Regions from separate parts of the Homo sapiens genome. Here all the other regions are linked to region 1. Evidence: promoter capture Hi-C in 16 types of primary human blood cells and fetal thymus (Javierre and others, 2016). All regions are on one chromosome and are shown on one strand. Each heading gives the region's core, a stretch centred on a gene start or on the middle of the fragment in contact. The rest is flanking DNA. Distances are from core to core; before and after follow the strand shown. Region 1 holds the start of BAZ2A (bromodomain adjacent to zinc finger domain 2A). Region 2 overlaps SARNP (SAP domain containing ribonucleoprotein). Region 3 holds the start of R3HDM2 (R3H domain containing 2). Region 4 holds the start of LRP1-AS (LRP1 antisense RNA).

The links. Contacts are between HindIII fragments. The CHiCAGO score rates a contact against its expected background, and 5 or more counts as called.
Region 2: a fragment that was not itself captured here is called in contact with the fragment with the promoter of BAZ2A in region 1 in 1 of 17 cell types (total CD8 T cells); the score reaches 5.3 in total CD8 T cells.
Region 3: a contact is called between the fragment with the promoter of R3HDM2 here and the fragment with the promoter of BAZ2A in region 1, in 12 of 17 cell types (total CD4 T cells, activated CD4 T cells, non-activated CD4 T cells and 9 more). The highest score is 11.2, in total CD4 T cells.
Region 4: a contact is called between the fragment with the promoter of LRP1-AS here and the fragment with the promoter of BAZ2A in region 1, in 2 of 17 cell types (M1 macrophages and M0 macrophages). The highest score is 6.6, in M1 macrophages.

Annotation. Positions count from the first base shown.
Region 1 is chr12:56,629,004-56,631,698 of GRCh38, reverse strand. It overlaps BAZ2A (bromodomain adjacent to zinc finger domain 2A), which reads left to right and starts at 1,373. Exons shown (of 29, transcript NM_001300905.2): 1 at 1,373-1,574. RefSeq lists enhancers at 1,067-1,136, 1,167-1,216 and a silencer at 1,437-1,786. The HindIII fragment of the contact is 7,835 bases long and covers 1-2,616 here.
Region 2 is chr12:55,813,627-55,816,321 of GRCh38, reverse strand. All of the region lies in intron 1 of SARNP (SAP domain containing ribonucleoprotein), which reads left to right. Among named protein-coding and RNA genes, the nearest start is that of SARNP, 2.8 kb to the left of the region's middle. The HindIII fragment of the contact is 3,247 bases long and covers 1-2,695 here.
Region 3 is chr12:57,429,733-57,432,427 of GRCh38, reverse strand. It overlaps R3HDM2 (R3H domain containing 2), which reads left to right and starts at 1,385. Exons shown (of 24, transcript NM_001394031.1): 1 at 1,385-1,708. R3HDM2-DT (R3HDM2 divergent transcript) reads right to left here and starts at 1,312. Exons shown (of 2, transcript NR_185976.1): 1 at 998-1,312. RefSeq lists a silencer at 1,484-1,953 and an enhancer at 2,134-2,243. The HindIII fragment of the contact is 10,065 bases long and covers 1-2,695 here.
Region 4 is chr12:57,146,296-57,148,990 of GRCh38, reverse strand. LRP1-AS (LRP1 antisense RNA) reads left to right here and starts at 1,372. Exons shown (of 2, transcript NR_131938.2): 1 at 1,372-1,552. All of the region lies in intron 6 of LRP1 (LDL receptor related protein 1), which reads right to left. RefSeq lists an enhancer at 1,830-2,695. The HindIII fragment of the contact is 5,560 bases long and covers 838-2,695 here.

The DNA.
Region 1 (2,695 bases), core at 124-2,623:
ATTCAGCAGCCTGAGCTTTGCACAGTTTAGGCAACTGTTTCTAGAACTGCATTGCATTGAATTAAATGGGAATTATCTTCAAGGCTGCAAAGTGTTGAGTTGCAAGGAAAGGAAACCTGGTTTCCTTTCTTGTCATATTTTATCCACTGTTTGACATTGAAGAAGTCATTGAACCTCTTTGGGTCTTAATTTCTTCATTTGATGAAGGAGAGAAGGTTGAACTAGAATTTTTTTTTTTTTTTTTTTTTGAGATAGAGTCTCCCTCTGTCACCCAGGCTGGAGTGCAATGGCGCGATCTCAGTTCACTGCAACCTCCACCTCCCAGGTTCAAGCGATTCTCTTGCCTCGGCCTCCTGAGTAGCTGAGATTACAGGGGCACGCCACCACACCCAGCTAATTTTTGTATTTTTAGTAGAGACCGGGTTTCATCATGTTGGTCAGGCTGGTCTTGAACTCCTGACATCATGATCCACCTGCCTCGGCCTCCCAAAGTGCTGGGATTACAGCCGTGAGCCACCGCGTCCGGCCTGAACTAGAAATTCTCTAAGCTCTAACATCATATGACACTGTTCTTCATCCTGGTGCCCTGCAGTGGACATTTTAGGTGACAGCCAAACTCTAGTCCTCTGCTAGATTTTACTTTTCTGAGTTTTCACACAGTTATGTAGCCCTGTCAGAAAAAAATTCCCAGAACCATAGAATGGGTGGACATTTGTGGCATCTTTTTGCTGATTAGTTTTCAGCTTATCCTTTACTTCTCTGACTGCATTTAGGCTACACTCAGGTCTTTGCTGTCTGGTTCCAGAGCCGAACCTTCTTTCCCCCACGCACAGGAATCTTTCCTTTCCGGTGACCAGGGCCCTGCAGATGTCGCCAGGAAAGTGGTGATCCAGGCAGGACCAGGCTGCACTGAAGGGACAGAGGTGAGTGGGTGGCTGACTCTTGCCTCTCCCCATCCCTTTACTGAATCGCGACCTGAGTGACTAACCTTTCTATTTCCACGTTTCCATTACCCTACCTGGGAAATAACTGCCCCCGAAATTCCCCTGACTCTTACCCCTACCAGCCTGTTAGAGAAGTGGCACCTGCCTTTGGGCCTAGACGTTTGGTCTAGTCTTTTAAGTTAACCTTGGGACTGTGGCATGCCTTTCAGTTTGCCCTGTGTGAAGCAGGACCACTGCCTCCATGAGATGCGGGTGCAGAGGGAGCTGCCAGGTGGGCAAGGTGGCCAGAGTTGCAGGAGGCACAGCGGCGCTAGGACCCAGGTCCGGGTCGGAAAGATGGGCTGGCGGGCTTTAGGACCCTGTGGCGGAGGCCGCGTGGGGAGACTCTCTCCCGGCCGAGGCTTCTCCGCCCCCTCCGGCTCCGACTCACTCCTCCCCCGCCGGCCATGTTGGCTCCTCTCGGGCCCCGCGGTTGAGCCGCGTCCCCCTCCCCCTTCCCGAACCCCGGACCCCAGACCCCCTCCCCAGCGGGCGTCTCCACCCGTTCTGGCGCCCGGAGCGCGGCCATGTGAACCGCTTGTACCCCGGGGAGAGACGAGCCCCGAGCCCGGCTGGACGCCGCTGCCTCAGGTTTGTGGGGTCTGTGGCCAGGGGCCTGAGGGGGAGGGAGCCCCGCTTTCATCCGAGGCTTCCCTCGGGGAACAGAAGCTCCAGAGCCGGCTTGAGCCTTGCCGGGGCGGGAAGCCGACGGGAGCTTATTTCCTGCGAGGATCCAACCCGAGGCGAGGGTCTCCTTGCTCTGGGGTCTGGGAGGAGAACAGGGCTGGTGGGGCTGCTGAGGACCCCGGACGGGGCCGCGGGGGCAGGAGGAGCTGTAGGGGCTCCCGGCGACAGTGAGGAGGCGGAGAAGCCGCCTGGCTGGTGGAGATGACTCCTGTGGGGGACTTGGGGTGGAATCCCCGGGAGGGGCTCCACCTCCTCGGGTGGGGGTGGGGATTGCCTGAGCGCGAGGGGTGGGTGAGGGGGTTCCCTTGGCGGGTTAAAACGCTCCGTTTGCGGGGAGCTGGGCGTTTTGACTGTGGTGAGTGGAGGGCGGAAGGGGTTTCCAGGGGTCTGAGGGTGTCTCCCTCGGGGAGCGCACCCATTCTCTTGAGCGTGAAGATCAGGAGAGGGCCTTCCTTGCTGAGGGTGGTGCTGCGCTTGGCTTGGGGCCCTCGCGTCCCGGGAGAATCGCGCACTCCGGGGATGGAGGTTGATAGGGCTTCCGCTGAGGCTTTCCAATTTGAGCTGGGCTGAGGGGCAGAAGGGAAGAATAAAGAGGAATTCCTTTTTCCAAGGAGATTCCTCACTGAGGGGATCCCCGCTTCCGTGGCAGAAAGATGATACCGCATCATCCCTTTCTTTCCCGGTGTTCCCAGTTTTCAGGAGAAGGCAATGTCAATAGCAGTTGTCCTTTGTAGGGTTAATTGGAGTGAGAGATTTGTCTGCTTTGGGGGACGACGGAGGGGATAGCTTTCCACCTCTATCTGTACACAAACAGCCCCTCCCCCAGCCTCCCGCAGGAAGTGGCCGGGAAATGGCAGCTGTGCGTTTGCTGCTGCGTGTCTTGTTGTTTTGAAATGTCCATTTTAATCAGATTTGGTTTCATTTTCTGAAGCCTTCTGGGCAAGCTTGGATCTTGCCAACCATGTGGCCCGAGAGACCTTTCGTTGGACTTTTTTTTTTTTTGTAAACTTGTCAACTGGAAGTAG
Region 2 (2,695 bases), core at 120-2,619, 820 kb after region 1:
TTATAGAAATTGTATACTTCTGGACTGTTATAAAATATAACACAGAAAAGGAATTTTTGAATGAGATAAAAAGGAACTATATATAGAAGAGCTAATATTTTCTTCCTATTTGTCCTATTTTTGAAATCCCTGGAGTAAGTCACCAGCTGCCCGATGACTTACTTGCATTTATAGATTGTGTTGGTTTATGGAGTTCCTCCTTCCATCAAATCTGTATTTGTCAGGTCTATATAAAATTTGTATTTGATTGGATAAGTAACTTTTACGTAAAGTCCTCTGACCTGATTTCAGTGTTACAGTCTAAGAGAACATTAGGCACTCCTGACAGCCTAAAAAGGACTTGCTCTTTAATCACATTTGCTTGTCTTTGCTTTTTCTCTAGAGCACTTCTTAACCTTTTGGAGGTCACAGATATCTTTGAAACTCTGATGAAAGGTATGGACCCTCTCCCCAGAAAAAGGCATGTACACATATTTTGCATGCAGTTTGAGGGGCTTCATAAAACTACCTTGTAGCCCCGAGGAGTCCATGGACCTCTGGTTAAGAACTCATGCCTTTAGCTGGGCGTGGTGGCTCACGTCTGTAATCCTAGCACTTTGGGAGGCCTAGGCGGGCGGATTGCTTGAGGCCAGGAGTTCGAGACCAGCCTGGGCAACATGGCGAAACCCCGCCTCTACCAAAAATGCAAAAATTAGCCAGGTGTGGTGGCAAGTGCCTGTAGTCCCAGCTATTGAGGAGGCTGTGAGGAGGCTGAGGCACAAGAATCGCTTGAGCCCGGGTTGGAGGTTGCAGTGAGCCGAGATGGTGTACTGCACTCCAGCCTGGGGGACAGTGAGACTCCGTCTCAAAAAGAAAAAAAGAACTCATGCCTTTGATTCTGATTTTTAGGACAATTAATGTTTGGTTCCACTGGTGATCTTGATGCAATGATCCTGACTTCTGGGTTGACTTGGGGTTTTATTGCCTTAAAAAAAAATCTTGGCTGGGTGCAGTGACCCACACCTGTAATCCCAACTCTTTGGGAGGCGGAGGCCAGGAGTTTGAGACCAGCTTAGGTAACATAGTGAGACCCTGTCTCTACAAAAAAAATTAAAAAATTAGCTGGGCATGGTGGCACACACCTGTAGTCCCAGCTCCTCAGGAGGCTGAAGTGGGAGGATTGCTTGAGCCTGGGAGGCCAAGGCTGTGGTCAGCTGTGTGATAATTGCTCCACTGCACTTCAGCCTGGGTGACAAAGGGAGACCTTGTCTCAAAAAAAAGAAAATAAAAAAATCTCTCCATTGTCATAAAGAGAATTTTGGGCTTTGGTATGGAACCTCAGGGGAAGGGAATACCTTTTGAAGCAGGAAGGAAACATAGTATGTATCTGAGTTGATATGTAATGTCATATCAACAGCAAATTTCTGAGGATTTTGTAGAAATGCAGTCATTCTTTTTTTTTTTTTTTTAAATTGAGATGGAGTCTCGCTCTGTCGCCCAGGTTGGAGTGCAGTGGCAAGATCTCGGCTCGCTGCAACCTCCGCCTTCCAGGTTCAAGCAATTCCCGTGCCTCAGCTTCCCGAGTAGCTGGGATTACAGGCACGTGCCACCATGCCTGGCTAATTTTTGTATTTTTAGTAGAGATGGGGTTTCACCATGTTATTGGTCCGGCTGGACTTGACTGACCTCAGGTGATCCTCTTGCCTTGGCCTCCCAAAGTGCTGGGATTATAGGCATGAGCCACCACTCCTGGCCCATACTAACACATTTGGAAAGAGAGATTGAACTGTGGATGAAAATGGCTTGAACTGTAACAGTATCAGATATCCAGTCAAACATTAGAAAAGGAACTATTGCAGAGGAGAGGAGAAAGTGATAGTAGTGTCAGAGTGTTGAGAATAGTGAGACATTTGTATTGAAAAGTGAAGTGAGGAAATATATTGGTAGTTGAAGATAGTTTGGAAAGGAAAATAGGTAAACTATAAAGGTAAATCAGAGTGATATTGAAAAGGGCTTTCTAAGTTATGTAAGGACTTCTGGCCTTTGTCATGTAAGAAGTAGGGCTGGGAGCCTTTGGAAGTTTGAAAGGAGGAGCTTGATGTGATCAGCTTGTATTCTCTTGGCGGATGGGATTTGTAGGGGGAGCGATTTCACCACTTAGATATTTATTATAGGAGTCATTCCCCTGCTTAAAACCTTTAAATTATATCCCTGCCCGTCTCTCCAGCATAGTTACTAACTCTTCAACTACTGTGGCCTTATTTTATTTAATTTCTTCAGAATGCTTCATCAATTGCCAACACTTAGCATTTGTTATGTGGCAAAGCACTGTTTGAAGCCATTTACATACACTAACTGATTTAATTCTCATAATAACCCTGTAAGGTAAATACCTGTATTATCCTCATTTGAAAATAAGAAAAACCATAGCTCAGAGAGAGTAACTGAGTAACTTGCCTTAGGTTGCACAGCTAAAATGTTGTATATTAAATCCAAGCAGGCTGGGTGCAGTGGCTCACGCTTGTAATCCCAGTACTTTGGGAGGCCGAGGCAGGCGGATCACCTGAGGTCGAGAGTTCGAGACCAGCCTGACCAACATGGAGAAACCCCGTCACTATTAAAAATACAAAATTAGCTGGGCGTGATGGCACATGCCTGTAATCCCAGCTACTCGGGGGGCTGAGGCAGGAGAATCACTTGAACCGCGTAGGTGGAG
Region 3 (2,695 bases), core at 136-2,635, 800 kb before region 1:
AGTTTAAATCGTGGTGAAAAGTGGCAGGTTAGATCAGTTCAGTTCAGTTGTATTTTTCTTCCCCCGTTGTTGTTCTCTAGAGGGTTGAGAGAATTTGGGGGCAGGAGGCAGTGATGACCAGGAGAGAGGGCTGGGCAAGGTGGCTCACACCTGTAATCCCAGAACTTTGGAAGGCCGAGGCGGGTGGATCACCTGAGGCCAGGAGTTCGAGATTAGCCTGGCCAACATGGCAAAACCCCGTCTCTACTAAAAATACAAAAAATAGCCGGGTGTGATGGTGCGTGCCTGTAGTCCCAGCTACTCCGGACGCTGAGGCAGGAGAATCACTTGAACCTGAGAGGTGAAGGTTGTAGTGAACCGACATTGCACCACTGCAATCTAGTTGCCTGGGTGACAAAGCGAGACCCCATCTCAAAATAAATAAAACAAACAAACAAACAAACAAAAAACGCCAACCAACCTGGAACTTGCTCATCCTTGAAGGAAAGATGAACTTCATGCCTCTATGACTTTGCTGGAATCTCCATTCTTACCTCTCTAGTGAACTATTTATAGTCTCAAGATTAGCTGGAGTTTCACCTGTAGTTTCTCTGTAACTTACTCAATCTCTTTTACCGCTAAGAACGAATTGCTGTTCCTTGTGTTTCCATAGCACATTTAAACCTTTCTATTATAGCACTTAAATTGTACTATAATTATTTGACTTTTTTTGCCTACCGCAGTTTCTGTCACAAGGTAAATATTTAATGGTCGAATTCTACAAAAGACTACATTGCTTCTTTGAGGGAGTTTGGTCAGTAAATTATCCACACACACATAATCAATAACTAAATTGATTCTGCCTAGAATGGACAAAACGGGGGAGGCTGGACATTTAAGACGATTTTTGAGAACTGTATCTTAGAGAGGGGATGATGGTAAGAATGTGATCTTAATAGGACAGACTGAGTTCCTCCTAGGTCGGTTTTTTTCATCTTTACGTAAAATGGACATTTACCTGCTCAACTATAGTTATCCACGTATGCAACAAATACCGAGTGTACGTTCTTTTGGTACAGGAGTTACTGCCCTAAGTGAAAGTGCTCTGTAAATGGAAATTACTTTAGAATGATCACTATTAGTATTATATTGAAATCCAGGGTATTCTATCTGACAGACTTGAAGGGTTTAAGGAGGACCGAGGCTCCCAGTGACTCCGGATTGGTGTCCTGACACAGGTAACGCGGAAGGAGGAGAGGGCGAGCGAGCGAGTGCGAGTGCGCGCGCGCCGGCGGGAGTGCGTGCGGCAGGCGGTAGGCCCCGCAGGGCTGCTGAGGGGCACGCGGGAAGCCAGGAAGCAGGGACGGCCGGAACGCAGGACGAGGTGACGACAACGCCGGACGTAGTGACGTAGCGCGCAGCCGCAGCGGGGGGCGGACTCTGGGCTTTTCTTCCCCTTCTGATTTTCCCCTCCCCCCTTTTCTCCCTTTCCGGGTTTGGTTCCCCCCTTTTCTTCCCCTCTCCCCCCTCCTTCCCAAGCCCCTTTCCCCTCCCCCGTCCCAGTCCCCCCTGCTTCCCAGCCCTCGGCCCCGGGGAAGCCCCGGCCGAGAAAAGCCCGCCCCCAGAAGCGCGCCGCCGCCGGCCGTCGGGGCCGAGCCGCAGCCGAGCGGCCGTGGGCCCGGGCGGCGGGCGGAGACGTGGGCGCCCTCCCCGCCAAGGCCCGTGCGAGGTGAGGCCACCTCCCGGCCGAGGGGGCGGGCGGCCCGGACGGCCTGTGGGGAGGGGGCGTGGCGGCCGCACGGGCGGGCGCGAGGAGGCCCCGCGGCCTGGGTTCCTCGCGCCCGGCAGCCGGTCCCGGGGACGATGGGTCAGGGTCGGATGGCCGCGGGAAGGACTGCTCCAAGTGTGCGCTGCTGGAGAGAAGCTGGGGGCGCGGGGCGGAGGGCGGCGGTGCGGGGGCAGGGGGGTGGCGCCACCTGTGGCCTTTGCGGGGTGACCTAAAAACTATTGCGCCCTTCCAGTGCTTCGGGGTGGCTAGCTCCGTGTGTTTCTTGGGTGGCGGTTTTCCTTCGAGCGTGGAGCATGGAAAAATAGGACGGAGAGGTGTAGAAGTGTTTAAAATCATGCTGGTGTCCAGGTTTCTTACAGGGACGGGGATTTGAGTTGGCACATACAGGGAGATGTTTCTATAGCTTAAAACTTGGGCCTACACTAAGCTCATAACTACTCGAGCCCCTGAAAACGCTTCGATTCGTTTTCCCGTAGAGCTAACATTTTTCAACATTTGTGGCCATTAAGTCTCGGAACTACCAGGAATACTGACTTAGAGTGAATTGTCATTGGATAATGATGAGAAATGACCGAATAACAATCCCAGAACTGCGTTAAAACGGAAGAAAGAAAAGTGGAAAAGTTTGAATTCAGATCCCAGTTGGATGAATATCCTTGTACATAATGTTGTTCAAATAGATAACTAAGATTGAGAAGCCTGAGTCCTGTCTGATATGCGTAAGCCACGTGGAGACTCAAGGAAGGAGGAAAGTGACAGGTTTCACTTCAGGAATATCACAAATTCCTAGCATTTTCTTGTATTTTTAGATAGATTTGCAGTTGAATTATTTGTGGCTCTTCTTCCTAATGCTTTTTTTTGTTGTTGTTCCACCAATATTCCCCCCCCACCCCCGCCCCCCTTTTTGTTGCTGGGGTATCAAGACAA
Region 4 (2,695 bases), core at 123-2,622, 520 kb before region 1:
AACACACACACTAAAAAAATAAATAAATAAAAGAAAGGGAGAGGAAGGGAAAAGTGAAGTTGGCCAGCTGGACCTGGGACCCATTTCGCAACCTTGCTGCCTGCAGCCTAGGGGCCCTTTGCTGAGCTCCCCAGCCACCTCCTTCTTCCCCATGCAGCATGGTGCAGGGAGGGGAACCCTGAGACCTCTGAGAGCCCCTTCAGACCATCCTTTCACACACAGTCCAAACTCCTGAGTGACTTCAGCAAACCCGATTTCCTTCAAGGCCTCTATTTACAACCTCAGAACCTCCCCTCACCATACACACCCATGTTCCCAGGACCCCAATCTTGCAGTCTGCCTCATTCTTTCTACAGTGGTGGCATCCTCCAAGGTGAAGGGAATACAGATCAGAGGAGCTCAGCTTAGGAAATGCAGGGCTGGGCTGGGGTCGGTAGACTGCACCACCAGGCCTGCCCAGGGGCAGCCTGGCAGGAGGCTGGACAAAGCTGGGTTACAGGCTCCATAGGCCTCTGGAGCTGAGAGACTGGTCAGAGGTGGGGGTGAGAGTGCGCAGGCCTGGTTCCTGACTAAGGGACTATCAGGCCTGTTGATCCCTCTGGGCCTCAATTTTCAGAACTTTAGTCTTTTGTGTATCACTTTCAAAATGTCTACCATGCTTATGTACAGCTTGCGCTACTGTTTATTACCAGTTATTTCAATTAACTTACTTTTCTTATTTCGCTGCATGCTAAACAATTGCTGAAGTAACAGATTTGATGTGCTAGTTACAGGAGTTTCCTAATGCATATCAAATAAAAACGTAACTATAACAGTTAAAAAAAAAAAAAAAAAGCTTGTCCAGGTACCATCTAAAATCAAATCAATGCATAGCCCCTTTGAGAAAGCAGTAGTGAAAGCCAGGGCTGCTCTTGGTACTGGCCAAGGGTCTTGCCTTCTCTTCCGGCTCTCACCATGGAGTTCTCTGGTCTTGGAATTCGAGCCTCATAGACCTCCCCAAACCACTGGGCCAGCGGCAGAGGGGAGGGGGAGGTAATCTCAGGTGGGAGGAAAAGAGATGACCCACCCAATCCAGGGGGATAACACTGGGCCTGAGGCAGGAGGGTCAGCAGCCCTGGGGCATTGAAGAGGAATGTTCACACACTGCAGGGCCTCAGGGGGGCCCTCGGGGGCTCTCAGGACTCCACAACAGGTCTGACTCACATGGCCCAGGACACATGTGAACCAGGCTCATTTCCTGGCCTCCTTCCTTCTTTCTATTCTATTTCTGCTTCCAGAGTTTTCTCTGGGGCAGGCTCCCCCTTCTGCCTGCACCAGCGGGCTGGCCTCGCTGGCTCGAACACCCCTCAATTGTCAGACTCCTCCCTCTGTGTGCACCCCTGCTGCATGAGGCTCAGCCCCAGGGGTCCAACAGAGGTCACAGTCACAGCACAGAATGGAAGGCTTGCAGGGAGGGCTGCCCTGGAGGGCAGAGTGAAAGCAGGGGAAAGCTGCAGCCTTTCTTCTTCGTCCTCCTTGGGGAGCTAATTACAGGCCAGCAGCCACTGTGCAGGTGAGTGCCTGGGACCAGCCACCCTACACACCAGGGCAGGCCAGTCAGCATCTCCTGGGGAGGGGGATGACCCAGAAACTGGGGGAGGGGCTAGGGGAGAGACACTGACGTCCTCAGTTTGGGACCCATAATTAGTTTGTGGGAGAGAGCAAAACAACCATCCTCAGGGTGACAGCCAGACATTCAGGCGGCAGGGACGTGGAGCAGGGGGAGGGCAGGGAGGAAGGGACAGAAGCTGGGATGAGAGAAACCCACTCATTTACCCCACAAGCATTTCCCCTTGGACTCTTCTAGCCTCCTGGACTCTGCCCCTGAGAGGCCCAGTGAGTTTAGCAGACTGGGAGGCAAGGCAAATCTGTTTGCCAAGGGAGGGGTACCAGCTTCTCCTGGGGAGGAAGTCAGATAAGGAGATGAGGCCAGAGTAGAAGTTGAGAAGGTTACCTCCAGGACACCCCATAGCCACCTACCCAGAAGCCCACTGTATGGCAAGATGCAGGGCTGGGGAGGAAACTGACAAGCTGTCTGCCCAGACAGGCCTGTTGAGTAGGTCAGTGGACAAGGAACAGGGGGAGGGCAGCTGCACAAGAGGGTCTAGCACCAATCCCACCCCATCAGCCATGGGGTTCCCTGAGTCGCCCACTCGTTAAGAGCTCAGCCAACCAGGCTTGACAGCCCCCAGCTCAGCACCCCAAGGAGGACACATGTCTGATCACAGGTGAGCTGTGGACAGCAGCAGCCCAAGGACGCTATCAGGGATGCTCTGGAGGAGCCAAAGGCAGAAATGTGAACCTTACGCTGAGGCCACGGAGAGTGAGGGCTCTCAGAGGAACCCCTGCTCGCCACCATCCCGGGGAGGGGCCTTTCTCTCTCCCAGAATGAATCCCTTGTAACCTCCTGGGATCTTTCTTTTCATCACAAGAACCAAATAAAGAAACTTGAAGATCTTCTAGAGAGGCCCAAGGTTCACAATCCTCAACTTCAAAGTGTGCTGTCCTTTACCACTGGCTTTCACTCCAGTTAATCTGATCTAGACAGACAAGCTCAAACCCATTATGCAGATTAGGAAACCAAGGCAGAGATGGGAATTCTGGTTTACTAAACAGTTACAGATCAAGTTAATCTCCCTTAGGGGGTCAGATCAAC